Regions from separate parts of the Homo sapiens genome. Here regions 2, 3 and 4 are each linked to region 1. The links are contacts of gene promoters, found by promoter capture Hi-C in human tissues and cell types (Jung and others, 2019). All regions are on one chromosome and are shown on one strand. Each heading gives the region's core, a stretch centred on a gene start or on the middle of the fragment in contact. The rest is flanking DNA. Distances are from core to core; before and after follow the strand shown.

Region 1 (6,406 bases), core at 2,941-5,440:
GCATGAACCCGGGAGGCGGAGCCTGCAGTGAGTCAAGATTGCGCCACTGCACTCCAGCCTGGGCGACAGAGCAAAACTCCGTCTCAAAAAAAAAAAAAAAAAAAAAAAAAAAGAGAAAATACCTGCTCACAGTCTAGCCTAACCCTAGAAATAGGGCTAAAATAAAACTAAAACAGAGACACAAACACAAACCAGGATACCAAGAAATGGTAGGTGTTCACACATCTGACCCACCAGCCAGGTTTCCCATGAGGACACAGAAGTAATAGTCCCCCACATCCAACCCTCTGTTCGAGTATGAACATTGTCAGAATCAAAATGGAGTCACTTTCGCCAAACCCTGACAACATAGAGGGAGGTCAAGATGAAGACAGAAAAATCAGCCAGGTGTAGGGGCACATGCCTGTAGTCTCAGCTACTCAGGTGGATTAAGTGAAAGGATAGCTTGAGCCCAGGTCAAGGCTTGCAATGAGCTGTGGTTGTGCCACTGCACTCCAACCTGGGTGACAGAGCAAGACCCTGTCTCAAAAAATAAATAAATAAATAATTATTATTTGCCAAAATATGCTTAATTTTTATTGCTAAAAAATGCTAACAATCATATGAGCCTTCAGCAGGTCATAATCTTTTTGCCGGTGCAGTCTTGCCCGGATATTGATGACTGCTGACTGATCAGGGTGGTAGTTGCTGAAGGCAGGAGTGGCTGTGGTAGTTTCTGAAAATAAGACAACAATTAAGTTTGCCACAGGGACTGACTCTTACTTTCACAAAAGATTGCTCTGTAGTCTGTGATGTTGTTTGACAGCACTTTACCCACAGTGGAACTTCAGTCAAAACTGGAGTCAATACCCTCAAACCCTGCGGCTGCTTTATCAACTAAATTTATGGAATAGTCTCAATCTTTTGTCATTTCAACAATGTTCACAGCATTTTCACCAGGAGTAGATTCCATCTCAAGAATCACTTCTTTGCTCATCTGTAAGACTCAACTCCCCATCTGTTCAAGTTTGATCATGAGATTGTAGCAACTGAGTGACATCTTCAGGCTCCACCTCTAATTCCAGTTCCCTTGCCATTTCTACCACACCTGCAGTTGCTTCCTCCCCTTAAAGTCATCCATGAGCATTGAAATCAACTTTTTCAAACGCCTGTTGTTGATATGGTGACCTCCCATGAATCACAGATGTTCTTAATGCCATCTAGAATGATAAATCCTTTCCAGAAGACTTTTGATTTTCTTTGCCCAGATCCATCAAAGAAATCACTTTTCATGGCAGCTATGGCCTTATGAAATGTATTTCTTAAATAAGTCAAAAGTGCTCCCGGATCCATGGGCTGCAGAATTGGTGTTGTGTTAGCAGGCACAAAAACATTTATCTCCTTATACCTCTCCATCAGAGCTCTTGAGTGACCAGGTGCACTGTCAGGAATAGTATTTTGAAGATAATCTTTTTTTCTGAGCAGTAGGTCTCAACAGTGGGCTTATATTCAGTAAACCATGCTGTACACAGATGTGCTGTCATCCAGGTTGTTTTTCCATCTCTAGAGCTCAGAGTAGATTTAGCATAATTTTTAAGGGCCCTAAGATTTTCTGAATGATAAATGAGAACTGGCTTCAACTCAGTCAACTTAAAGTGACCGACATTAGCCCCTAACAAGAGTCGCCCTGTCCTTTGAAGCCAGTCATTGACTTCTCTCTAGCTGTTTACGTTGTATATGGCATCATCTCCTCCCAATACCGTATAAGGCTATTTTACGTACCTTGTAAATCTATTGCTTAATTTAGGAGCCACTTTCATCTTGATCTTAGCTAGATCTTCTGGAGACCTTGCTGCTTCACCTTGTGCTTTTCTGTTATGGAGACAGGTTATTTACTTCAATCTCATGAACCAACCTCTGTTAGCTCCCAATTTTTCTTCTGCAGCTTCCTCACTGCTCTCAGCCTTCATAAAACTGAAGAGTTAGGACCTTGCTCTGGATTAGGCTTTGGCTTAAAGGAATGTTATGGCTGGTTTGATCTTCTATCCAAACCACTAAAACTTTCTCCATATCAGCAGTAAGGCTTTTTCACTTTATCATTCATTGTGTTCAACAGAGCAGCACTTCTAATTTCCTTTAAGAACTTTTCCTTTGCATTCACAACTTGGCTAACAAGAGACCCAGCTTTCAGCCTATCTTGACTTTCAACATTCCTTCCTCACTAAACTTAATCATTTCTAGCTTTTGATTTGAAGTGGGTAGAGTGCAACTCTTCACTTCAACACTTGAGCCCACTGTACAGTTACTATTGGCCTAATTTCAATGTTGTTTTGTCTCAGGGAAGAGAGAGGCCGGGAGAGAGATGGGGAAACAGCCAGTCAGTGAAGCACACACAACATTTATTAGGACTACCATCTTTTATGGGCATAGTTTGTGATGCCCCAAAATAATTACAATAGTAACATCAAAGATTACTGATCATAGATCACAGTAATAGATTAAAATGTAAGAGAGAGACACGAAGCGAGCAAAAATGGTGCCAACAGACTTGCTTCCATGCAGGGTTGCTTGTAAAAAACTTGTAAACTTGTAAAAAATGCAAGATCTGCGAAGTGAAGCTCAATAAAGCAAAGCGCGCGGGAAACTGAGGTGTGCCTTTATGTTCTGCTTTAGCAGACACTAGGTGGCGAGCGTTATTTGAACGTTTACAGGAGGCCCTGTGTATCTGCGGCTGCATATCCATGGATTCGACCAACCAGGAATACAAAATATTTGAAAAAAATAACAATAAAAAATGACGATTTAAAAATACAAGTAAAAAAAATCAGTGTAACTATTTGTGCAGCACTTACATTGCATTAGGTACTATAAGTAACCTTGAGATGATTTAAAAGTTATGAGAGGCTATGCATACATTAAATGCAAATACCACGCCACCTTATAGTAGGGACTTGAGCATCCGAGGATTCTGGTATCTGCAGCGGGGCCTGGAACCAATCCCCTCCAGATACCAAGGGAAGAATGACCATACGTGAGTGAGCCTGTATTTGCAACGTTTTGGTCTGCTTAAGCCAAACATCAACTCTTACTGGGCGGTGTCACCAATAGTTTTACGAAATCAAGCTACATGTATATTCACCACTTATTTTTTTTCTCACATTCATTCTTTTAGCTTAACTTTCTTCCAAAATTATCCTCAATCTAATTACAAAAGCAGCAGCTAACTTTATTAAGGGTTACACATCAGGTATTTTGCTAAGCACTTCACCTGCAGTATCAAGTTTAACCTTTTAAGACAAGGAAACTGCAGAGACAGAGAGAGGAACAAGGTCAAAGAGCTAACAAGCAGAGAGGCCGGGTCTGAACTCAGGCCCTGCTCTTAGCCGGCTACTATCTCGTCTCCATCGGCGACTCAGGCTCCTGGCGCTTTCAACACAATGGTATTCCAAGACTTCTCGCAGCAGTTCTTCCAAGCGGGCATTCGGTGTAAAACGATGGAATGCCGAGTGTTCCTAGGTTCTCATTTCTCCCTTCGCTCTCCTCAGACATTAGAAATATCTAATTTACCGGGTAGGAAAGCACTCAAGAGGTTTCCTCAACACTACCTAGGAGGAGTGACAGGTGGCACTGTTCAAAAACCCTTTTCCTTCATTAGAGGGAAAGCCAAAATCTGACCTTTCAAAGCTCCACCAACGAGCCTTTCCCCTTTTAACGCATACACTTTTCCCTCCTAATTCCGCAGCAGCAAGTCAGGCCTTCTTCCTCAAGCTCTCACTGCACGTTCTCAAGGCTGCCAAGAAAAGAAAAAATAGAAGAGAAAAAAACAAGCCCGCAAAGACTCAACTGTGTGTGCTCTCAACTAACACGGCGCCGGCGCTGCCTTTACTGATGCTGGGAAGGCTTCTCTTCACGACTTCACGCGTGAGAGTGGGCAGCGGGCGCAGGGCGCGGCACTCCGCGGGACCCACAGGGGGGCTCACGGTGGAGGCCCCGGGCCCGGCTCCCCCGCCAGGCTCCCTGCCCCAGCCCCGCCGGACGACGCGGGCCCGGGAGCAGGAACGCGGGACGCTGCTGACGGCCCGGGTCCCCAGACTCACGTTTGTACTCGGCCATCAGCCTCTTGAGCGCGGTCCCCGCCATGGCCCCGCAACAGCTGCGCCGAGCGACCTCGCCTCAGCCGCGCGCGTGCCTCCTGCCCCGACACCGGGGACTGCTTCCGGGCCACCGTCGCGGGCCCAGGAACTCTTCCGGGGCGTGGCGCGTGCGCGATCGCCGAGGCGCGCTGTCCGGGTGGTGGGAGCTCAACCCGCGACCGCGGCTACGATTCTCTTGGCTCCTGCCCTCGCCTTAGTCGCTCTGCGGGGTTGGTTCGGTCCCGGCACTTCCAGAGGCCTCAGGGTCCTGGTCTTGTAGAGACTTCCTGAACGGTGGCGCCTGTTCCAGTGTGTGTGCGCTAACTGCCTGTTCTGTGCCAGCCGCGCGTGGCCGAAGGGCGGGAGGACGGGGGTTGTGGAGGGGAGGATGGAGGTTGGGGAGACAGGGCGGGGACGAGATAAGAGGTCGGGGGGTGGGGAGGATGGTCGCGGGGCGGTCTGGGGCTGGAGACAAGGGGCCTGAGGTGCGGGTACGCACTGAACATTCCAACCGTCCCCAGCCGGCCGGGTTTCAGGTTTGAAAAGGTGGGAAGGTTAGCTGTCCTGGCGCTTTTCCTCCACGTGTTGTGCGGCTCCGCTGGAGTTCGGGTCCAGCACCTTCTACTCCGAGGGAGAGAGCCGCGGGGAGAGCCCTGTTCGGGCCCGCGGCTCGAACTGACCGCCGGCTCTGCCGAGCAGCCTCGACCCCAGGGCACCCCCGGGAGAGAGGGCGCGGCTCAGGTCCCTGCCCGAACCCCTGGGGTGCTGAGAGACTCCCCAGCGCCCCGCGTGGGCTCCCGGCCTCTCCACAGTTGAGGATCCTGTAAGGGGCGAGCCCTTTTTCCCATAATGGCTGTAGTGAGTGGGTGTGCTTTCCCGATTGACCCGCTGTGAGGTGAGCGATTTTAACCCACATCCTTACTGACTTCACAGCACAGTAGGTGCTTCGTGGCTGTCCGGTGCAAGGATGTATATACACACACACCTTTGCAAAAAAAGTTTGCATCTCTTGCCTGGCTGTTTGTTGCAATAATCTATCATTTGTCTTTTCCTTTCCAGCATTGCAGATGATCCCTTGAAAAGAAGTCTGATCACATTCACACTCTGCTCCGCCCATTTCACTCAGTAAAGCTGAAGTCCTGCAGTGCTTTGCTCTGCCTCCGGTCACCCCGCCATACTCCCAGACCCTCCCTCCCTCTCACTCCACTCCAGCTGCCCTGGCCTGGTTCAGAGTCCCTGACTCTTCCCTCCCCGGAAACACTTTCTGGCGGCTCTTGTCCCCGACTCTTCCCACCTGCTCTTTCAGTCTTTGCTCAAATGTTGCCTCTTCAGTGTGGCCTAGGCCGTCACCACCCGGCCTTCACCGCATACCTTTTTCTCTGCAACACCTACTCAACACACCGTACTATAGAACTTACTGGCATGCTATAAATGTATTACCCTTATCTGTTGCCTCTAACCAAAAGCGTGTTCCATGAGAGCCATGGGTCCCTGCCTACTTCTGTCTTGTTTCTGGGGCAGCCTCTGTACCTGGACATCGTATACTCTTAACACGGATTTGTCAAATCAAATGAAATTTAACAATACAAACTTCACAAGTATGCATAGTGTAGGAAAATTCCCCAAAATTCAAAATTTCAGTCTACCTCCATCTTTTCAAATGACCACAGTGCTTTATAAAATGACATGGTCCTTTGAGACTGTTTCAGAGAGTAATTTGTGCAAATGCAATGTGCAAAAAGTCACAGTGGAGGTGTTTCCTCCCCCATTCAAGAGCTGCTCTCTCTCTAATCAGACAGCACCCCACACCCCAAGGCAGTCTGTCCAGTGCTCCTAAAGGAGAGCAGCTCCCCTTTTCCAGTTATGGGAGATGTGGGCAATAAAGCATTACTGTCAATGCCGTGATGTTCACTGCAACATATGCTTGATGTTTTCATAATTTTATCCATCTTTTTCAGACATCTTACTGCAGAACACTGTATGTTTTCCAATTATTATTTTTCAGAAATGTGGTTTACAGCTTCTATCAGGATTAGCTTCAGCTTCAAGTGACAAAAGTCACTTGAAATATGAGTTGCTGAAACAAGATGGCAGTCTCTCCCCTCAACAGGACTGTTACAACACCTTATCTTCAGAGAACCAGGCTCTCTGCAACATTTCAGGGACGTCGTTCAGTACCTTATGTGGAATTCAAGCTTAGCTGGGCATCCTATGTTTTAACTGGCTAACTCGTGGAACTCTCAACTTGGATCAAGTGGTAGTGGAGTCCCAGGGACTCTGAGCAGCCAGTGTGT
Region 2 (6,406 bases), core at 1-2,500, 1.4 Mb after region 1:
TTTGTATTCTATCATGAACAATTTCCAGTGTCAGTCATTTTTCACCCAGGCTGGAACGCAGTGGTATGATCGGAGCTTACTGCAGCCTCAAACTCCTGGGCTCAAGTGATCCTACCAGCTCAGCCTCCTGAGTAGCTGGGACAACAGGCATGTAGCACCATGCCTGGCTAATTATGTACTGTAGAGATGAGATCTCTTTATGTTGCCCAGGCTGGACTCAAGCTCCTGGACTTAAGCGATCCTCCCTCATCAGCCTCCCAAAGTGCTGGGATTACAGGCATGAGCCACCACGCCCAGCCAGTCATTTTTAGAAAATATCATCGTCAAGGGCTGTGAATTATTCTATCACATGAATGTGTTATAATTGTTTAATCAGACTCCCATCTTCGGATATTTATTCTGTTTCGACTTTCATACAATAATGCTACAGTAAACATTTTTATACATTAATTTTTGGGGAATATCTGGTAGGTCAGAATTCTTTAGGTTAGAATTGGTAATTCAAAGGGTATGAATATTTTTAAAGTATTTGCCAAACTGATGAATGGAAACAGTACATCATTTTAATTTGCTTTTCTCCTCTATTGAAGGACTTCCTAAAGCCAGTCCAGGAGCACAGTTTTTACCTGTTCAGTGGCACATATCTGTGATTGAAACTCTGTTTTTGCATCTTTAACCACTGAAGGAAGAATGGTAAGGTAAAAAGACCTTAGGCTTTGGAGCCAGTTGGATCTGGCTTTGAAAAGCAACCTGACCACTCACTACTTGAACACTCTTGGGTGAGGCTCTTGACTTCTGGGAGCTTACCTTCCTCATTCATTAGTTTTCCTCAGGAAAAATTAATCCCAGAAGAGAGGTCTGGGTAATGCCAAAGCTCAGACAATATGTGCTCCAACAGAAGCTGCTGTCATCACCTTAATGCCCTTAATTACACATCAGCACACAGTTACAGGTCTTATTCAGTTCTTAAGAATATTTCAATTCTATTCTTCATTTATTTCGTAGGCAGAAACTCAAAATCAGTTGGGTCTCTTTAACAATGATATGGATAAAGTTTAAGAAAAGGTCTAATTTGAGCTAATAATTTGTCGGTCATCAAAACATCATAGGATAAATCGTGATATTACTTTTTTCCCCAGCCATTCTCTCAATCTTTAATTCTTATGTAAATGCCAAATGTATACGTTCTTCTCACCTGTGGGCTAGTAGTTACAGATGTTTTCATCACAGGTTCAATAGTGTGAGAAAGAGACACTAGAGTCTGAGGAAGATAGAGGGGAAGGGAAGTTAAATCCGTAAATGCTCCTGAGTCTTCAGACAACCATTGCTGAAGCTGATCTTCAAACCTGAAACAATATGTAATAAATTCAAAAATATTTGAGCATTAGGAAGTTAACTATTGTTCATTAATCTTCTATATATACTTAAAAACTTTTTAAGCCTTTGCTTTTTTAAAATTTTATATAATTTTTTTTTTTTTTTTTTTGAGACAGAGTCTCACTCTGTTGCCCAGGCTGGAGTGCAGTGGCATAATCTCGGGTCAGTGCAACCTCTGCCTCCCAGGTTCAAGTGATTCTCCTGCGTCAGCCTCCTGAGTAGCTGGGATTATAGGCAAGTGCCACTGTGCCCAGCTAATTTTTTGTACTTTTAGTAGAGATGGGGTTTCACCATATTGCCCAAGCTGGTCTTGAACTCCTGACCTCAGGTGATCCACCCACCTCGGCCTCCCAAAGTGCTGGGATTACAGGAGTGAGCCACTGTGCTTGGCCAATTTTATTATTATTTTTTTTTGACAAGGTCTCGCTCTGTTGGCCAGGCCGGAGTGCAGTGTTACAATCTTGGCTCACTGCAACCTTGACCTCCCAAGCTCAAATGATCTCACCTCAGCCTCCCAAATACCTGGGACTAGAGGCGCATGCCACCCAGCTAATTTTTGTATTTTTTTGTAGAAACGGGATTTTGCTGTATTGTCAGGCTAGTCTACAACTCCTGAACTCAAGTGATGTGCACACCTCAGCCTCCCAAAGTGCTGGGATTATAGGCATGAGTCACCACACCCAGCCTTAAGCCTTTGCTTTTTACTAAGAATATAACTAAGTTATGACATCAACTGAGAAGCAGAAATGTACTTATTAAAAATTTAACAACTTCCTATGATAAAGCTTAATTTAAAAAAAAAAACTAGGCTGGGCTCGGTGGCTCATGCCTGTAATCCCAACACTTTGGGAGGCCGAGGCGGGCAGATCACCTGAGGTCAGGAGTTCAAGATCAGCCTGATCAACATGGTGAAACCCCGTCTCTACTAAAAATACAAAAATTAGCCAGGCATGGTGACACGTGCCTGTAATCCCAGCTACTTGGGAGGCTGAGGCAGGAGAACTGCCTGAACCCGGGAGGCGGAGGTTGCAGTGAGCCAGATCACGCCATTGCACTCCAGCCAGGGCAACAAGAGCAAAACTCCATCTCAAAAAAAAAAAAAAAAAAATTAGAGAAACCACTTCCCTTTAATTTATAAATCCAATTCCAATTTATATTTAATGAAAAAGGTGGTATTAATCCAAAAACAACTGCTTCGATGTGTTACTTAACATTACTTGTAATTGTCTTGTTTGGCTTATCTTATTTAATTTACTTTGGTTTTATGCATCTATAATTAATTCTTCTGACATTTTCCAAATGAGTGGATTGCTGCTTATAGCTTAAAATTAACTCAAAATAATATCCCACTGCCACCTAACATACTCTAGAGCTGTCTACTTCCATATACCGGTCTTTTCAAGAAAAACAATCTTGGCCAGGTGCAGTGGCTCATGCCTGTAATCCCAGCACTTTGGGAGGCCAAGGCAGGTGGATCACCTGAGGTCAGGAGTTCAAGACCAGCCTGGCCAACATGGTGAAACTGCGTCTCTACTAAAAATACAAAAATCAGCCAGGCATGGTGATGGGTACCTGTAGTCCCAGCTACTTGGGAGGCTGGGGCAGGAGAACTGCTTGAACCTGGGAGGTGGAGGTTGCAGTGAGTCGAGATTGTGCCACTGCACTCTAGCCTGGGCAACAGAGCGAGACTCTATCTAATAAAAAGGAAAAAAAAATCTCATCCCAAACCACTTAAATTATAGAGACTGATTTTAGTAATCGGACACATTCATTCACCCTTCCAAAACATATTCATTAAGCCTCCTCCAGATGCTAGGCATCATTCTAGGTACAAGGAATATTGCACTGAAACAAAACAGAGGCCCTGCCCTAAGCAATTTATACTTTAGTGAGGAGAGACAGACAAGGAACACATAACAAGAGAAACATGGTTTGAAGATGAGAAAGACAAAGCAGAGCCATGGAAACAAGAAGGTCGGAGATGGGCAAGCAGGGCCTAACAGAAGCAGACATTTGAGTAGAGATCTGAAGTGAGTACAAGATCAGCCATGGGGATGCTGGGGAGAATGGAGGGGCTGGACAGTCCTAGGCAAAAGGAACAGCAAACTCAGAGGCCCAACTGTGAACTGCCTACCATGCTCAAGGAAGGAGCGGAGGTCAGAGAGGAAATGGGGGGCAGATCACTCAGGGCCCTGGCCACCCCTGCAAAGTTTGCCTTTGATTGCAGGTGAAAGAGGGAAACCACTGAGAGGCTGTAAGCAAGCAAGTGACACGACCTCCATCTTAACTCACTTGAAAGGCACCCACCAGGTCTACCAAGACTAAACTGCAGCCTACTGTAATAATCCAGAAGGAAGATGATAGTGGCTTGAGCCACGTGGTGGCCATGGAAGTCATAACAAGTGGTCCAATTCTGAATGTATTTTCAATAGAGCCAATAGGATATGTGAATGGGCTGATGTGAGGGGATGATTCCAAGGCACCTGATCTAGGCAGCTGGAAGGATGGAGCCGCCATCAACAGAGATGACCACCAAAGGAAGGGGTTGGTTGGAAGAAAGCCGGGAACTGGATTTGGGATATGTTAACTTTGCAGTGGCTACCAGACATCCAATAGGTGTCTAATGAAGATTTCAAGGAAGCAGTAGCATGTTCAAGTGTGGAGTTCAGAGGTTTGAGATACAAATTTGGAGCTGTCAGAATAGTGATGTTACTTAAAAATCCATGAAACTGGATGAAATTTCTGAGGAGTAGGTACAGACGATGCAGAGGAGAGGTTGAGAGAATGAATCCAGGGGGCAGCTGGGGGATGAGGAGGAACCAGCAGGGCAGGAGGGGGACCACGGACATCCTAGGAGCAAGGAGGGGAGGATCAAGTATGGGATGCTACCAAGGACTGGGATTCACGGTCATGTTCAACCCTGGGCCTTCATCCCCATGGGAAAGAAGGCTGAAGAAGTGAGTATCACAAGCGTTTTTGAGGAGTTTTACCATTAAGAGGGCAGAAACATGAAGTGGTGGCTAAAGAGGGAAGTGGGACCAAGACAGGGAGGCATGTTTCATGTCTGTGTGCTGCTGATGGGCACCACCTAATATGGGGAGGGGTGGTAGCACGAGAGAGATACTCATTGAATGAATGTCCTTGGGTAGGTGGGAGATGAGATCCCAGCCCAGGGAAGGGCTGACTGACTACGAGCTGCATGGTTCGTTTCCAGCAACAAGAGGCGTCAGGAAGGGGATATAGGGAGGATGCTGGATGTGGCTGGGAGGGCAGGGAAGGCAGAGGACAACCTGTGGAAGGTCCCTTATTCCTGATTCTACTCAGTAAAATGGTAAACATGGCCATCAAATGAAAGCAAAGGAAAGGTATGCATGGGAGGGAGGGAAGTGGGCAATGTAGAGGAGGGGCAGCCCCAGCTCCTGTCCATTCACAGCATGGGATGATCCACCAATGCCTCAGGCTCCCAAGGGCAGGGTGCCTGTGGCCAGCCATAGTGTTCAGCACTCACCATCTTCTGAGCAGACTTAACCACATGAATTTCCCAGAAAAACTTAACACTGACTTTCAATAATAAATAATAAATGAAATTCACTTCAATATAAACAGTTAGAAACATACTATCTAGGGCACTGCTTCTGTCTTCAAAGAGCTTTTAAATAGTTACATCACTAAAACTGTTGCTAATAATCCACCTGCCCTTCTCCATCCTGGCTGTCTTATATTAATCAAGCAATAACCAGTCTCCCCTCACAGCATAAAGCAGACTAAACACACATGAATTAGAAGGAAGTGGGCTTCACCTCTTGTTCTCTTCTTTCTCCAGCAGCAGACTGCTCGACAAACACTGCGCCAAGAGCTCCTCAGCAGAAGCTCCTCGCATCAGATCCTCTGTGCTGGGAATCCTCCCCTCTTGAGCACACTCTGTGCTCCTCTTCCAGTTACGGTGCATGTGAAGCAATGGTATGGGAAAATTGTTTGCAGAAGGATGAAAAGGCTTTATTGCCAAACTGTAAGTACATGATTTGAAATGTTTATGGTCAAGAGAAAATATTTCTACAGCATCATGTAAAGCATGTAGATACATTTGCACATGTGCATTAACATGTAAGAACATGTGCCTCAGACACATGTGCCCTCCTGGAACAGCTCATGCTGGCCCCATGCCTGCTTCCAAGCTTCCATCAAGTCAGGGAGTGGAGCAAAGAGGGAAGGCAGCCCCTGCACTGTAGGGACCCTTATGCACAGAGGCATTGAGACTGCCTGTTCCTCTTGGAAGCTTCTGCTCTCAAGAGGCAGCTAGGTTTTTGGAGCTTCTCTGCTTCATGTCTTGCTTCCCACCCTAGGGTTCCAGATTCTGTTCTTCCCTAGTATTGGCAAGGTTTTTTATAGATAGCTCTTGGATACATTTGGAAGTAATGTTTACAAATGGTGAGAGAGAAGGCATCTGACATTTTTTTCTAAACACATGCCAATGTTTGTCTTTTCCCCACTAATTTCAATAATTTGGCCTAACACTTTTGTCACATATTCTGACTCTTTATTCTGATCCATTTATCTACTCTGGCATCCCCACATGGTTTTAAGTACTGGAGCTTTACTGTATGTCTTGGTATCAGGCCAAGCAAACCATGTTAGTCTTATTTAAAACTTTCTCAGCAATTGATGCATATTTGTTTATCCTGATGAATTTTAGAACTTACCAGTACTGACATCTTCACAGCATTGTATCCTGTCAACAACCTAGTCTGAACCTCAATGGTTCAGGTTTCCTTTGCACATACAGGCCCTGAGAACTCATATGTTAATGAGAAAGACATTCCGGGAAACCAGGAGGTGAGGAGACCAAGGATTAGGCTCCACTCCTATTATGAAGATGAACAGTTTTTAGAGTATCATGGAGTTGGAGAAGGTACTTCAAGGATCTCTATGGGGAACAAGAAGGAACAGCAAAGTTCCACCATCCTGTGCCCTTTCTGTTCAGGTTTATTGTTGTGAATGAGAATTTTTTTTTTTTTAACATGTTGTGGAT
Region 3 (6,406 bases), core at 1,978-4,477, 1.1 Mb after region 1:
CATGCCATCCTTACAGCAGCCCCAGGGCATGGCACACCCCCATTTTATAGCCAGGAAACTGGGCCTGGCTAGCCAGGGATTTGCCTGGTGTCACAGCCCTGTGGGCAGCAGGACATGTCCTTACCTCGCCGACCTAGGGGGCTCAGGTCACAGGGTCACACGGAGTCACACGGCGGGAGAAGTCCCTGTGCAAAACTCCATTTCGCTGCTTTCCCCAAATTCATGGTTAGGTAACCGGTTTAGTAACCTCTGTGGACTCCACCTTTATGTTTAAACAAATCCATGATGATATCATGTGGTAAAAGGTAGGATTTTTTTCAAAAGGAAGGTGTGTTTATACAAACACATGTGGGGTCTTAAAGCCACTGGGGGAGGAGTCACAGCTCCAGGGAAGAGGGGGTGCAGCTGAGCCCTGCTCAGCCACCGGCCACACACCTCTCACTCCTGTAAAGAAGGCAGTAGCACGCCCTCCCTACTGCAGCAGGTGAAGGGCCCTGTGCAGTGGGTGCTGTCCGAAGGTTGATGCTAGAATGTCAGCCCTTTGAGAGCTGGGCCCTGGGGCCCTGGGGACAGTCTGGTCTGGCCAGTGGTCAGCCTTGGTGGTGGAGGACAGAGTCGCAGGGAGTTACCCACCCTGAAGTAACCCAGGGGAGCTGCCGAAATGCAAACCCAGAAGTGTGGGCCGGATACCTGCAAGGCCACTGGCGTCTCCTTGACGACTCAGACCCACAGTGCCTAGATTAGGACACACAACCCAATACAGACCCTAGAGAGCTAACCTGGAGGGCCCATCCACTTTATTTCTGTCCAGTTGGAGAAATCAGGGACCTGGAAGATGCCCCACCACTGTGAGTGCTCTGGGGGCACCCAGCAGCAGCTCCTGTCAGCCACCACCGCGTTTCTAGCACGACATGGTCGTGAGTTAAATCAGCAGAGCCTGCTAAGGGACGAGCAGATAGAAAACATAACAGTAAGAAGATCAGTCAGAAAACTCGCGTGGCCCAGGATGCAGGATGCTTGAGCTCTTGTGGTTCAGCTCAGACAGTTGGGGCTGACCTGGGACCCCGTGCGCTGAGGGGGCGGCTCCCAGCATGAGTTCCAGGGCCCCTCACCTTCGGTGACACATGGGAACGTGCCTCTGGCAGCACCTTTACAAAACACTTGCAGGTGGCCCTCAAGACACTTTGTACAGGACAGTGAGGTCCTTGGTTCCTGCTCTATCTGATAAGATTCTTTTACTTCCTCAGCTGACGCAGCACTGTGGCCTCACAGCCCTGGGGCTTGTTTCAAAGCTGGGCTGCAGCCGGGTCCCTGTCTGGAGGTTGACTGGCCTTTAACTCCGAGGATTGGGTTGTTTATGATGAAAACTCTTGGCAGATTCAAAACCCATGGGAGGGTTTGGGCTGCACAGAGGTGACACACATCCTTCCCTGAAGTGTCCCTCTCTGGTGCACAGGGTCCCCCCACCCCCACGTGTGGTCACCGCGAACACCGATACCACGGGTCCTCATGGGAAGTGGCGTGGGGCCCGCACAGCCAGGGGCTGGTAGCCGCTCCCTCCACCCCCAGGCTGCCACCAGGCCTGGTGCAGCCCTGTCCATGTCCCGAGTCCTGACAGCTGTTCGTGGTCTTCACTCTCCCTTGACTCTGTGTGGTCCATTTGTTGTCTGGCCATGAGTTTCTGAATCACCTGAAAGCGTCTCCACTGACGGGACCTGTGGGGCAGGTGGGGCCTCTCTCACCTGCCCGGATTTCAGAGTCAGGGTGGGTGGGAAGAGGCTGCAGGTCGGAGTCACTGTTTTGAAGGCGAGGGAAATACTGAAGCCAAAATGAGGCCTCAGGAGCCCCACACGATGGCTTGGGAGGGGTGTATTGCTGCCCCCACGTCAGGAGGGCCACCCCCTCCCTGTCTTCAGGGCGGTCATGAGAGGCAGCAAGCTGTGACTGACGTAGACCCACTTCCTACGTAGACTGGCTTTTGGTGAATTGGTTTTGGTCACCTTTTAGAGCTTTCTTTTGTTGTTTGGACTTCTTGGGGTAAATTATTTCCCAAAAGTATTTACTCAGATGACTGATTAAATTTTCAAAACCGTAATAATTAGTGGAGACCTCTTACTGGGCAGATCACTCTTCGATTCTTTTGCTTTAAGAAACTTGGAGTCGGAAGCATCAAGGCTGAACTGTTTCCCTCCCACCCGCTGAACTGGCCAGCTCAGCTCTGCCCGCCCAGAGGAAGTGGGTGCGGCTCCCCTGGGGCTCCTGGTGCCCTGGGAGGGTTGGCCCTTTGTCCTAGGATGGGGACAGGTGGAGAGGCACACGAGGGGGAAGCTTCTACCGGAGGGTCCTTGTCATGCTGGAGGGTGGCGGCGGGTGCTGAGCCGTGGTGCAGCCAGGTTGCAGTCTGACGGGGTCTCTCTCTCTCTCTAGGCCTACACAATCCAGGGACAGTATGCCATCCCTCACCCGGATGTGAGTCTTCACTTTGTCTTCCTCTCACCTTTCTCTTCTCATGGTTGTTTACCTACCTGCATGCTGCTGTTAATTGCTACTAACATTAATATTACACAATAATATTAATCAACTTCTCAGCGTTCCTGACCTGTGTCGTATCCATATGACCTCGAATAACCTTTTAACCTCTTAGCACTAATTCTGCTTGTGTTGAGGACTTGGCCTGATGTCAAATTGTCTCAATTCTGCCGCAGTCCTGGGTTTTCCTCCCTCCCACGGGGCCTGGGAGGGAACTGAGACGGGCTCTGTCCCCGTGCAGGGCAGTGAGGATGTGCTCACCCGCCACAGGCAGGCGTCAGTGATACTTTCTCTGCGCCTAAGAAGTTGGGTGACATTATCAAACAGGCCACAAAGATACCTTGGCAAGCACATTTGAGGGCCTGGTGAAATTAACTCCCCCTTTCAGAGTCCACATGAAAACATAGGGTCCATCTACACACACAGATCCAGGCTGTGGAAAGCCAGTGGAATAGGCCTTTGTCTTCATTCCAGAATCAGTGGGATGCCAGGCGGGCATAGCGTCCTTGGCTCCGCCCGGGCCATGCGGAGCTGGGTCCCATGCAGCTCCATGACCGGGGGCTCCGACACCTCTTTTCTGCTCCTGCTGGGTCTAGGTGTAATTCCAGTGCTGGAGGAAGAAGTTACCCTCAGATAAACGGTCGGTGTAATTCCAGTGCTGGGGGAAGAAGTTACCCTCAGATAAACGGTCGGTGTAATTCCAGTGCTGGGGGAAGAAGTTACTCTCAGATAAACCGTCGGTGTAATTCCAGTGCTGGAGGAAGAAGTTACTCTCAGATAAACGGTCGGTGTAATTCCAGTGCTGGGGGAAGAAGTTACTCTCAGATAAACGGTCGGTGTAATTCCAGTGCTGGGGGAAGAAGTTACCCTCAGATAAACGGTCGGTGTAATTCCAGTGCTGGGGGAAGAAGTTACCCTCAGATAAACCGTCGGTGTAATTCCAGTGCTGGGGGAAGAAGTTACCCTCAGATAAACCGTCGGTGTAATTCCAGTGCTGGGGGAAGAAGTTACTCTCAGATAAACCGTCGGTGTAATTCCAGTGCTGGAGGAAGAAGTTACTCTCAGATAAACGGTCGGTGTAATTCCAGTGCTGGGGGAAGAAGTTACCCTCAGATAAACCATTGGTGTAATTCCAGTGCTGAGGGAAGAAGTTACCCTCAGATAAACCACTGGTGTAATTCCAGTGCTGGAGGAAGAAGTTACTCTCAGATAAACCGTCGGTGTAATTCCAGTGCTGGAGGAAGAAGATACTCTCAGATCATCCATCGGAGGGGAACCCTGGGCGGCTCTGGGCTGTGCGGCTCAGACCCCTTAGGGGCCAAGAGATAAAAGGTGCAAACTGTGAGCAAAGGGCCTCTCTGGAGGCGGCTTTAGGGCCCCCAGGGAGTGACGGCCGCACTGGCAGGCACTGGGGAGAGGAGAGGGGAGAGCAACAGAGAACGAGAGACAGACGGCCCCACCGGAAGTGCTTCGTGCTGTCAGCAGATGGGGCAAACCTGGAGTTGGTTCTGAGGAGGTTTCTCTTCTCTAAACCATTTTGAACGTTTGCCCAGCTCAGTAGCTGCTCCTCGTAACGCAGTTCCAGTCTGTGTGCTGCTCCCTCTGAACTGCGAGAGGCGCCTCTGAGCTGGTTGGGAGGTGGCCGCCAGGTGAGCGGGCTGCTCCAGAGCCTTCTGCAAACCCTGATGCTTTTGAGTTGGGGGCAAGGACGTCCATCTGAGTGAGATGAGAAGGCAGGTCAGGAGTGTTTTTAAGAGTTAATGAACATTAAATAAATCTTTGATATAGAGATGCAATTTACTATCATTGCAGGAAAATTTATATTGAATGGAGAATAGATAACAATAGTTATTCCATTAAAGGCAACACATGAATCAAATGGTAGAGAAACGCTGATCAAGAAAAGCCTTTCCCCACCTGCCCCAGAGGCCGTTTTTAGTGGTTCCTGGCGTCAGACCTTTGGTGATGCTGCTGTAGCTACATCAAGGACATCTCATCCTGGGGTCAGCTGTAGACACCAGTGCCTGACCCCACTAGGAAGCCGGGCTGTGGCCACCACACACCGGAAGGCACTGTTGGGGCTGCCCCAGCCTGCGCCCAGCAGCAGCGTTGGGCAGAAGCAGAGGTGTGTGTGTGTGTGTGTGTGTGCGCGCGCGCGTGCGCGTCCCCGTGCATGTGTGTGGCAGGGGTGTGGGGGGCAGGTGTGATGTGTCCTAACAGAAAGCCTGTGTGAAGGAAGATGAAGATGGAAGCCAGGGGAGTCAGAGGCGACTTTCTGGGGTGGCCCAGTTCCATTAAGGACTCAGGACAGGTGGTCACGCACATCTAGAGATGCACGTGTGCAGAGGCAGGTTCCAAAGGGGGGGTCACTTGACTTTGCAAAGCTCTGGAACCCAAAGGAAAGGCAGTGTGCGGTGCCCTTGGTAAAGGGAAGGTTAGTCGATGGGGTCAGGGTTTGTGTTTACCCCAGACAGTCGCCCTGAAGTTGGATGCTCAGACCTGCAGGGACCCTCTGGTGACACCTTACGGATTTCCTGTGGCCACAGAGCCTAACGTTCTCACTGTGGCCTTTGGCTGAGCACCCGTCTGAGCCAGAATGCTTGTGGTCTGAAATTTCCAGAGGCCGTGGCTGTGTGCCACGGTGGGACTGCAGGACCCTGATGTTTGGTGATTGGCTTTTACTTCGATTGGTGGCTTTGCTCTTTCTCATGTGACTTTCTCAGTATCTCTTAGAAATGGGTAGTTGTGCAGATTGTTTCAAATTAGTTTAATGTATAACTAACTGTTAAGAGAACTGCCTCAGTGCATGTGGTAATGATTTGAGATACCTGGTGCTATGGTTTAAATATGTCTATTCCTCCACAATTTCTCTGTTGGAACCTAATCACCAAGGTGACAGTATTAGAGGGTGGGGGGTCCCAGGGCTGGGGAGTGATTGGGTCATGAGCGCTCCACCCTCGTGAACAGCATTGGTGCCCCTATAACAGAGGCCTCAGATAACAGAGGCTTCAGATAACAGAAGCTTCAGAGAGTGGCCTCCCCTCCATCCCTCCTGTCATGTGAGGACAAGAGCGTTCAGGCACCATATTGAAAGCAGAGACTTGGCCCTTCCCATACACCAAACCAGCCAGCACTTTGATCTCCAGTTTCCAGCCCCCATAACTGTGAGCCACACATTTATGCTGTTTCTGAATTGCCCGGTCTAAGGCATTTTGTCATAGCAGCAGGAGTGGACTAAGGCGCTTGGTTCTTTACTGTGAAGTATCTCTCTGTGGAAGACATTCTGTTTCTACATCGGTGTCATGAGATTTGCAGAGCAGCTGTTATTAATAGAAGACTGGAAGCTTCCATGGTGCTTTTCTTGCAGGCGTGTAAAATTGAAGACTTGGACAATCACTTAATCATTAAACACAAAAATAAAATGATTGTTTAGTGACATAGGTAACAATAGTCAGGAAGCAATTTGTATCTGAGCTTGGTATTTAGTAGAAATTTTTAAAGCATCGGTATTTAGTAGAAATTTTTAAAGCTTCAATTTCTTACTATATCAATATAATTATAGAATATGTTGTTTTAATTTATAATGTAATTGAATACAAAGTTTATTTATACCACAGTGCCGGCTTATATACAGATACTAGAGTCATTTTTTAGGAACGTGATATTTGACCTGGATGTGTGGGCCCATGAATAAGAAACATCAAGCATAAGAAAATACATTCCTTAGGTTTGAGTATTTCTTTATGTAAAACTAAAATATGCATGTGTTTTCTGTGCCCAGTTTTAAAAAGTGTTTTTAGCTTGTTCTTATTTAAGAATCATCTGGGCTGGGCATGGTGGCTCAGGCTGGGTGTGGTAGCTCAAGCCTGTAATCCCA
Region 4 (6,406 bases), core at 2,737-5,236, 1.1 Mb before region 1:
CTGGCAGCCAGCACTTTGTGTTTCTAGATATTTCATAAGTGTGGACTCGTGCTCTATGTGGATTAAGGTTTTGCCAAACGTGTCACCTGTCCCCCCTGGTGTGAGGATGTCTCTGAGGTTCCTGAGAGACTGGGCTGGCAGAGGATGTGCATGTTTCGTTTTAGAAGGTGCCATTCCCGGCCGGGTGCGGTGGCTCATGCCTGTAATCCCAGCACTTTGGGAGGCCGAGGCGGGCAGATCACAGGGTCAGGAGATAAGACCATCCTGGCCAACATGGTGAAACCCTGTCTCTACTAAAAATACAAAAATTAGCTGGGCGTGGTGGCACATGCCTAGAGCCCCAGCTACTCAGTAGGAGGCTGAGATGGGAGGATCGCTTGAGCCCAGGAGGTTAAGGCTGCAGTGAGCCATGACTGCACCACTGCACTCCAGCCTGGGCGACAGAGCAAGACCCTGTCTCGAAGGAAAAAATAAAAATAAGTTATGGGCAATATGGCATTGTGTCCTCAAACACTCCAGCCTGCATTACCAGGTGACATTCCTCTCTATAACTACATCGCCATGGTTACAGGAAACCAACTTAGATCAAGGACATCTTCACACAAGTTCACGTTCAAATTTCCCCCTAGTTGTTCTCAAAACATTTTTTCTTACCGGGAAATAACCAAGGATGTGCAGTGATTCTTGTCTAAAGTCTCTCTTCCAGAGTGTCTGCCCCTCATTTTTTCTGATACTGCATTCTTGAAGAGTGTGTATAACTTTGACCCCGCAGCCCAGTGGGTTGCTTCTGATTGCCCTGGGGATGATCTAGCAGGGTTGTGGCCTGTCCACTCTGTCACAGGGACCCCTGTGTGGGAAGTCCTGGACATCCAACGCCCCTGACAGTGCTCAGCCCCTGATTGACGGCCTGGTTGCTATGACAACTCCAACCTCAGCTTTCCAGCTTTCTCTAGGAAGGGATAACCCCCCTTGGCCCAGCATCAGGACCCAAATCCAGAGCTCACAGGCTGGTTTCCCCGACTTGGTCCTAGTGCAGCTCAGGGCAGCACGTGGGCTGGCGTCTTCCTGTGTGTCCAGGCGGGCAGCCCGAGGAGGCCTGTTGTAACCCAGCCAGAGTGCTGAGCCGGCACCGTGGGGACACAGCAGACTCCAAGAAGACATCATCTTCTCCCCAGAGCTCCTGCTTCTCAAGCACAAATTGTCATCTAACTTTAGTCTCTAAACTGTGGATCTACCTAGGACCACAGAGATCAATAAATTCCAGGGTTAGCACAGCAGGCAGCAGACACATGGCTGGTTTTTGCAGCGCCTGAGAATAAACTATTATTGTACCAACTTCCCAGCTACGTACCGCTTTTCTATAAATGAAACATAAGCCAAGCCAAAGTTTTGTTTAAAAACATAAAGCTAAATGCAGAAACATGACTGGATTTAGGTTTGTTTTCTGAGCCTACAAAGCCTGCAGGAACCAGGACATTGCTGCTGCCTCTGAATGTTCCGTTCCTGCTTTGAAGTTCCCAGGGACTCCGGAAAGGAGGGGCTGCCTGCAAAGTTACAGAACGCCGACCCCCAGTGCCCCGACCAGAACGCACGTGCACACTCACATGCAACAGCTGCAGATGGCCGGGCGCAGTGGCTCCTGCCTGCAATCCCAGCACTCTGGGAGGCTGAGGAGGGCGGATCACTTGAGCTCAGGAGTTCTAGACCAGCCTGGGCAACATGGTGAAACCCCAACTCTACCAAAAATACCAAAAAATTAGCTGGGCGTGGTGGTACGCACCTGTAGTCCCAGCTCCTCAGGAAGCTAACGTGGGAGGATTGCTTGAGCCCAGTGGGCAGAGGTTGCAGTGAGCCAAGATCGCACCACTGCACTCCAGCCTAGGTGACAGACTGAGACCCCATCTCATAAAATAAAAAAAAAAACAAAAAACCACACACACACACACAGCTGCAGCCAGGTGAGGGCCCCATCCTCGGACGCACCCACACACTGACTCACTGAAGGTGGGTGCAGATCAAGGAGTCCCAGGCACTCTCTCCTTTGATAAAAATGCTTGGCACGCCCGCCGAGTATCCAGGCAGTGCCAGGCGCTGGGATACAGGCCAGAAAGACAACAGGGACTGCTTGGAGTCCAGGGACCAGAGAGGAGATGAGACCTGCGACACCATGCAAGCCACAGCTGTCACTTTCAATTTCCTTGCACACTTTTTGTTTTGTTTTTGAGACTGAGTCTTGCTCTGTTGCCAGGCTGGAGTGCAGTGGCGCAATCGGCTCACTGCAACATCCATCTCCCGGATTCCAGCGATTCCCCTGCCTCAGCCTCCCGAGTAGCTGGGATTACAGGTGCGCACCACCACACCTGGCTTATTTTTTTTTTGTATTTTAGTAGGGACGGGGTTTCACCATGTTGGCCAAGATGGTCTCAATCTCCTGACCTCATGATCCGCCCACCTCGGCCTCCCAAAGTGCTGGGATTATAAGCGTGAGCCACTGCACCCGGCTGTAGACACATTTTTTAAAAGAGAAAAAGAAACTGTCAATCTTTTTAAATAATGTATTTCCAAAATATAATTTCAACACGTAATTAATATTAAAAAGTATTAAGATATTTTGCAGGCTTTTTTTTCTGTAGTAAGTTTCCAAAACCAGGCGTGTATGCTGATGGCACGCGTCGCCTGGCACTCTGGAGTCACATGTGGTTGCAGCTATGATATTGGCCATGGCGATTCTACAGCTAAAGCCGAGAGGAAGTTTGTCCAGAGAACAAGTCGGGGTGGGGATCTCAGTAGAGGGAACCGCACCTGAGTAGAGGCACAAAGGAGGGAACAGCCAGTGCAGCCAGGATGTAGGGGGGCTGGCCAGGGACGGCCATGGGGGCCGTGGGGGCCGTGGGCAGGGTTTGGGCTTTGTCCTGTGCACACTTCAGGAGCCACTGGAGAGCACCCACCAGGCAGCAGGGGAAGGAAGGGTCAGAGGCCCGGATGGACCAGAGGCGGGAGGGCAGCCAGGCCTGGGGCCCACACCTGGGCTCAGCGGGCAGGATCGGAGGACCGGCTTCTGGTTGATGTGGGGAGGGCCCAGGGAGAATGGGGAAAAGAAGACAGGGAGGTTTCCAGAGCGTGTCGGCCTCTCTCCTCGTTTCCTGATCCACCTCATCTCCATGGGCACGTTTTCCTTCTGAGAAGAGCTGGGAAGCCCGTCAGCAGGCGGGCCTCTGTCCTCACCTCCACTAACCTGGCCCTTGCAGGCGTCCCAGGCTTCCAGGGCCAGCCCCCTGGGGTTTGGCACCCTGCAGCCTCTGACTTTCTCTTCACTGCTCCTTTGGGAGCACGTGCCAGAAGAGACACTGCCTCCGTGGCTGGCACGGACGACGACGCCCAGCAGGCAGCTGTCTCAGGAGGACAGGCCCAGCTGCAGGAAAGGGCAGCCCCGGGCTTCTGGCAGGGGCTGAGGCAGGGAGGCCAGCCCTACCTGGGGGCTGGAGGTGGCGTTGAGTGGGGGTGTAGGGGGTCCGCAGACGGCAGCTGAAGCCCCTTCTCTGCAGGTTATGCTGGTGCGATTCCCTTTTAGGAAGTAGAGTCCGTGTGGAGAGAACGGTGAGCCGCCTGCGTCCTGTTGCGATTCAGCCCCTGTGTCTTCCCGGAGGGCCCTGCGCCCGCCTTTTGTTCCTAGGACTCGGTGCCTTTCTGAACCCAGTCTAAAAATTGCCGCAGCTCTTTCTGGCGTTAGTCACTGCCTGGTGATTAAGGCTTCAGTCCGTCAATCTTTAAATCCTACAATTATTTCTCCACCCAGGTTTTTAAGAATAAAAGTTGAAAATGTACTGAACTGACAGCTACCGGATTTGATTCCTATTTGATTCGTACCTTTCCCGAGTGGCCCCGATCGCCACCGCAGCGCCACGTCCTGGCAAATCATTCACGCCGACCTTGAGAACTCAGCAGAGGTGCAGACTGACACTCAGCCCCGCCCCCTATCACGGGCTTTCTGCGGGTGAAAGGAGACGTTGCTTTTGTTCCCCACAAGCAACTGCAGGCAGTGCTACTTATTTTTAACACAGTTGAGCGGGCAACTTTATCTTAAATGATTATGTGCTGAAATCTGCTGATGAAAACGCTATAAGATGGGCATGGGCAGGGGTGGCCGCCAGATGTGTTCTGCGTGACAGCTTTTTCTGAACCTGCTGGACAAAGTCCCCACTTGTTGCCCGCTCAGCCCCGGTCACAGCCCCACCTCGCCGGGGCTTGTCTTCAGTTCCTCACACTGCCACGCTCTTGACCCACTCATTGGCCTCTTTGTGGGGACCCTTCAGCCAGAAGGCCCTTCCCCTTTCCTGCCCAGCTCTGGCCCAGACCTGCCACATGGAGGCTGTTAGAGGTGGAATGTCTGAGGCCTCCAAATGCATGTGTTGAAACCTAATCCCCAGAGGGATGGTATTTGGCGATGGAGTTTCCCAGAAGTGGCTTGGTTTGTGCTGGCTGCTATAGCAAGTACAGTCATGGGTCGCCTAGTGAGATCTGTTTTGAGAAATGCATGCTCGGGCGATATCACTGTCGTGCAGACCTCACAGCATTCACTCACACAAACCCGGCTAGCACAGCCCGTGACACACCTCAGCCCTGTGCTGTAACCTGCTGTTCCCAGGCTACAAACCTGCAGAGCATGTCACTGCACCAGATACTGTGGGCCCCCTTGACAGTGGTGAGCTCTTGTGTATCTAAATACAGAAAAGGCATAAAAAATAACGTGCCAGCCGGGTGCGGTGGCTCACACTGTCATCCCAGCACTGTGGGAGGCCGAGGCGGTTGGATCACCTGAGGTCAGGAGTTCGAGACCAGCCTGGCCAACATGGTGAAACCCCGTCTAAACTAAAAATACAAAAATTAGCTGGGCATGGAGGCACATGCCTGTAATCCCAGCTTCTGAGGCTGAGGCAGGAGAATCGCTTGAACTGGGGAGGCGGAGGTTGCAGTGAGCCGAGATCACACCACTGCACTCCAGCCTGGGTGACAGAGCGAGACTCCATCTCAAAAAAAAAAAAAAAAAAATACGGTGTCATCATGTATGGGACTATCTATGGGACTTGTGGCACTTGACTGGACCATAAACTGCTTATAAACAACAGAAATTGATTTCTCAAAGTTCTGGAGGCTGGAGGTCCAAGATGGAGCACCGGCAGATCTGGTGTCTGGGAGAGGCCAGGCAGCTCTTTGGGGCCTCTTTCACAAGGGCACAAATCCCATTCCTGAGGGCTCCCCGCAACGACTTCATCACCTCCCAAGACCCCACATCCTGATACCCTCACCTTGGGAGTTAGGTTCAACCTATGCATTTGGGGGGACACACTCAGTCTCTAGCAGTTGGGTAGACCCAAGATTGCCCTCAGGAGCTCCTTTGGGAGGCGCTCTCTATTGGGTCCAGTGCCAAGAAAAAATATCTGACTTGTATTTTGTAGAGGCTATGTTATTAAAAAAATACATCTTTAGGTTGGGCACAGTGGCTCAAGCCTATAATCCCAGCACTTTGGGAGGCTGAGGCAGGTGGATCACCTGAGGTTGGGAGTTCGAGACCAGCCTGGCCAACATGGCAAAACCTCATCTCTACTAAAAAATACAAAAATCAGCTGGGTGTGGTGGCATACGCCTGTATTCCCAGCTACTCGGGAGGCTGAGGGAGGAGAATCCCTTGAACCTGGGGAGTGGAGGTTGCAGTGAGCCGAGATCGCGCCAGTGTACTCCAGCCTGGGCGACAGAGCAAGACTCCGTCTCAAAAAAAAAAAACTTTAAACATGAGAGAGCCTCTCAGCTTGACAGCACTCCTGCGGTCACAAACACAGACGCGGCCACGAAAAAGAACGAGATCATGTCCTTTGTAGCAACATGGATGCAGCTGGAGGCCACTGTCCTGAGTGAATCGATACAGGAGCTAAAAACCAAATACCCCATGCTCTCAGTTACAAGTGGGAGCTAAACATCGGCGCCCATGGACATAAAGACCACATGCTCTCAGTTACAAGTGGGAGCTAAACATCAGTGCCCATGGACATAAAAGACCGCAACAGTAAACACTGGGACCACCAGAGAGGAGAGGGAGGGAGCGGGGAAGGGCTGAGAAACCAACTGCCGGAGACTATGCTCAGTACCTGGGTGCAGGATCATTCGCACCCCAAACCTCAGCATCACGCAGTATACCCAGGAAACAGACCTGCACCTGCATCCCTGAATTAAAAATAAAAGTTGGAAAAGAAAAAAATAGACTGGGTGTGGTGGCTCATGCCTGTAATCCCAGAACTTTGGGAGGCCGAGGCGGGCGGATCACCTAAGGTCAGGAGTTTGAGACCAGCCTGGCCAACGTGGCAAAACCCCATATCTACTAAAACTACAAAAATTAGCCCAGAAGGGTGGC

Evidence for each region. The method cuts DNA at HindIII sites, captures the fragments that hold promoters and counts their contacts. A contact is called where the count stands out against the background at its distance.
Region 2: a fragment that was not itself captured here is called in contact with the fragment with the promoter of UBE2G2 in region 1 in 1 of the 25 tissues and cell types used here (dorsolateral prefrontal cortex).
Region 3: a contact is called between a fragment that was not itself captured here and the fragment with the promoter of UBE2G2 in region 1, in 1 of the 25 tissues and cell types used here (dorsolateral prefrontal cortex).
Region 4: a fragment that was not itself captured here is called in contact with the fragment with the promoter of UBE2G2 in region 1 in 1 of the 25 tissues and cell types used here (hippocampus).

Annotation. Positions count from the first base shown.
Region 1 is chr21:44,797,630-44,804,035 of GRCh38, forward strand. It overlaps UBE2G2 (ubiquitin conjugating enzyme E2 G2), which reads right to left and starts at 4,191. Exons shown (of 6, transcript NM_003343.6): 1 at 4,077-4,191. The coding sequence starts at 4,119. It overlaps LINC01424 (long intergenic non-protein coding RNA 1424), which reads left to right and starts at 4,612. Exons shown (of 2, transcript NR_109928.1): 1 at 4,612-5,007; 2 at 6,118-6,406. RefSeq lists an enhancer at 3,417-4,372 and silencers at 3,920-3,979, 4,040-4,259, 4,760-4,809. The HindIII fragment of the contact is 9,913 bases long and covers 1-6,406 here.
Region 2 is chr21:46,235,634-46,242,039 of GRCh38, forward strand. It overlaps MCM3AP (minichromosome maintenance complex component 3 associated protein), which reads right to left. Exons shown (of 28, transcript NM_003906.5): 26 at 5,178-5,384; 27 at 1,196-1,346. It overlaps MCM3AP-AS1 (MCM3AP antisense RNA 1), which reads left to right. Exons shown (of 4, transcript NR_110565.1): 3 at 5,201-5,386. Among named protein-coding and RNA genes, the nearest start is that of MCM3AP-AS1, 9.6 kb to the left of the region's middle. The HindIII fragment of the contact is 5,213 bases long and covers 1-3,857 here.
Region 3 is chr21:45,915,161-45,921,566 of GRCh38, forward strand. PCBP3 (poly(rC) binding protein 3) reads left to right here. Exons shown (of 18, transcript NM_001384156.1): 13 at 2,428-2,469. Among named protein-coding and RNA genes, the nearest start is that of COL6A1, 63 kb to the right of the region's middle. RefSeq lists a silencer at 1,316-1,542 and an enhancer at 4,015-4,514. The HindIII fragment of the contact is 4,969 bases long and covers 744-5,712 here.
Region 4 is chr21:43,699,191-43,705,596 of GRCh38, forward strand. LOC124905030 (a long non-coding RNA gene) reads right to left here and starts at 4,110. Exons shown (of 2, transcript XR_007067894.1): 1 at 3,473-4,110; 2 at 2,542-2,802. The HindIII fragment of the contact is 8,181 bases long and covers 1-6,406 here.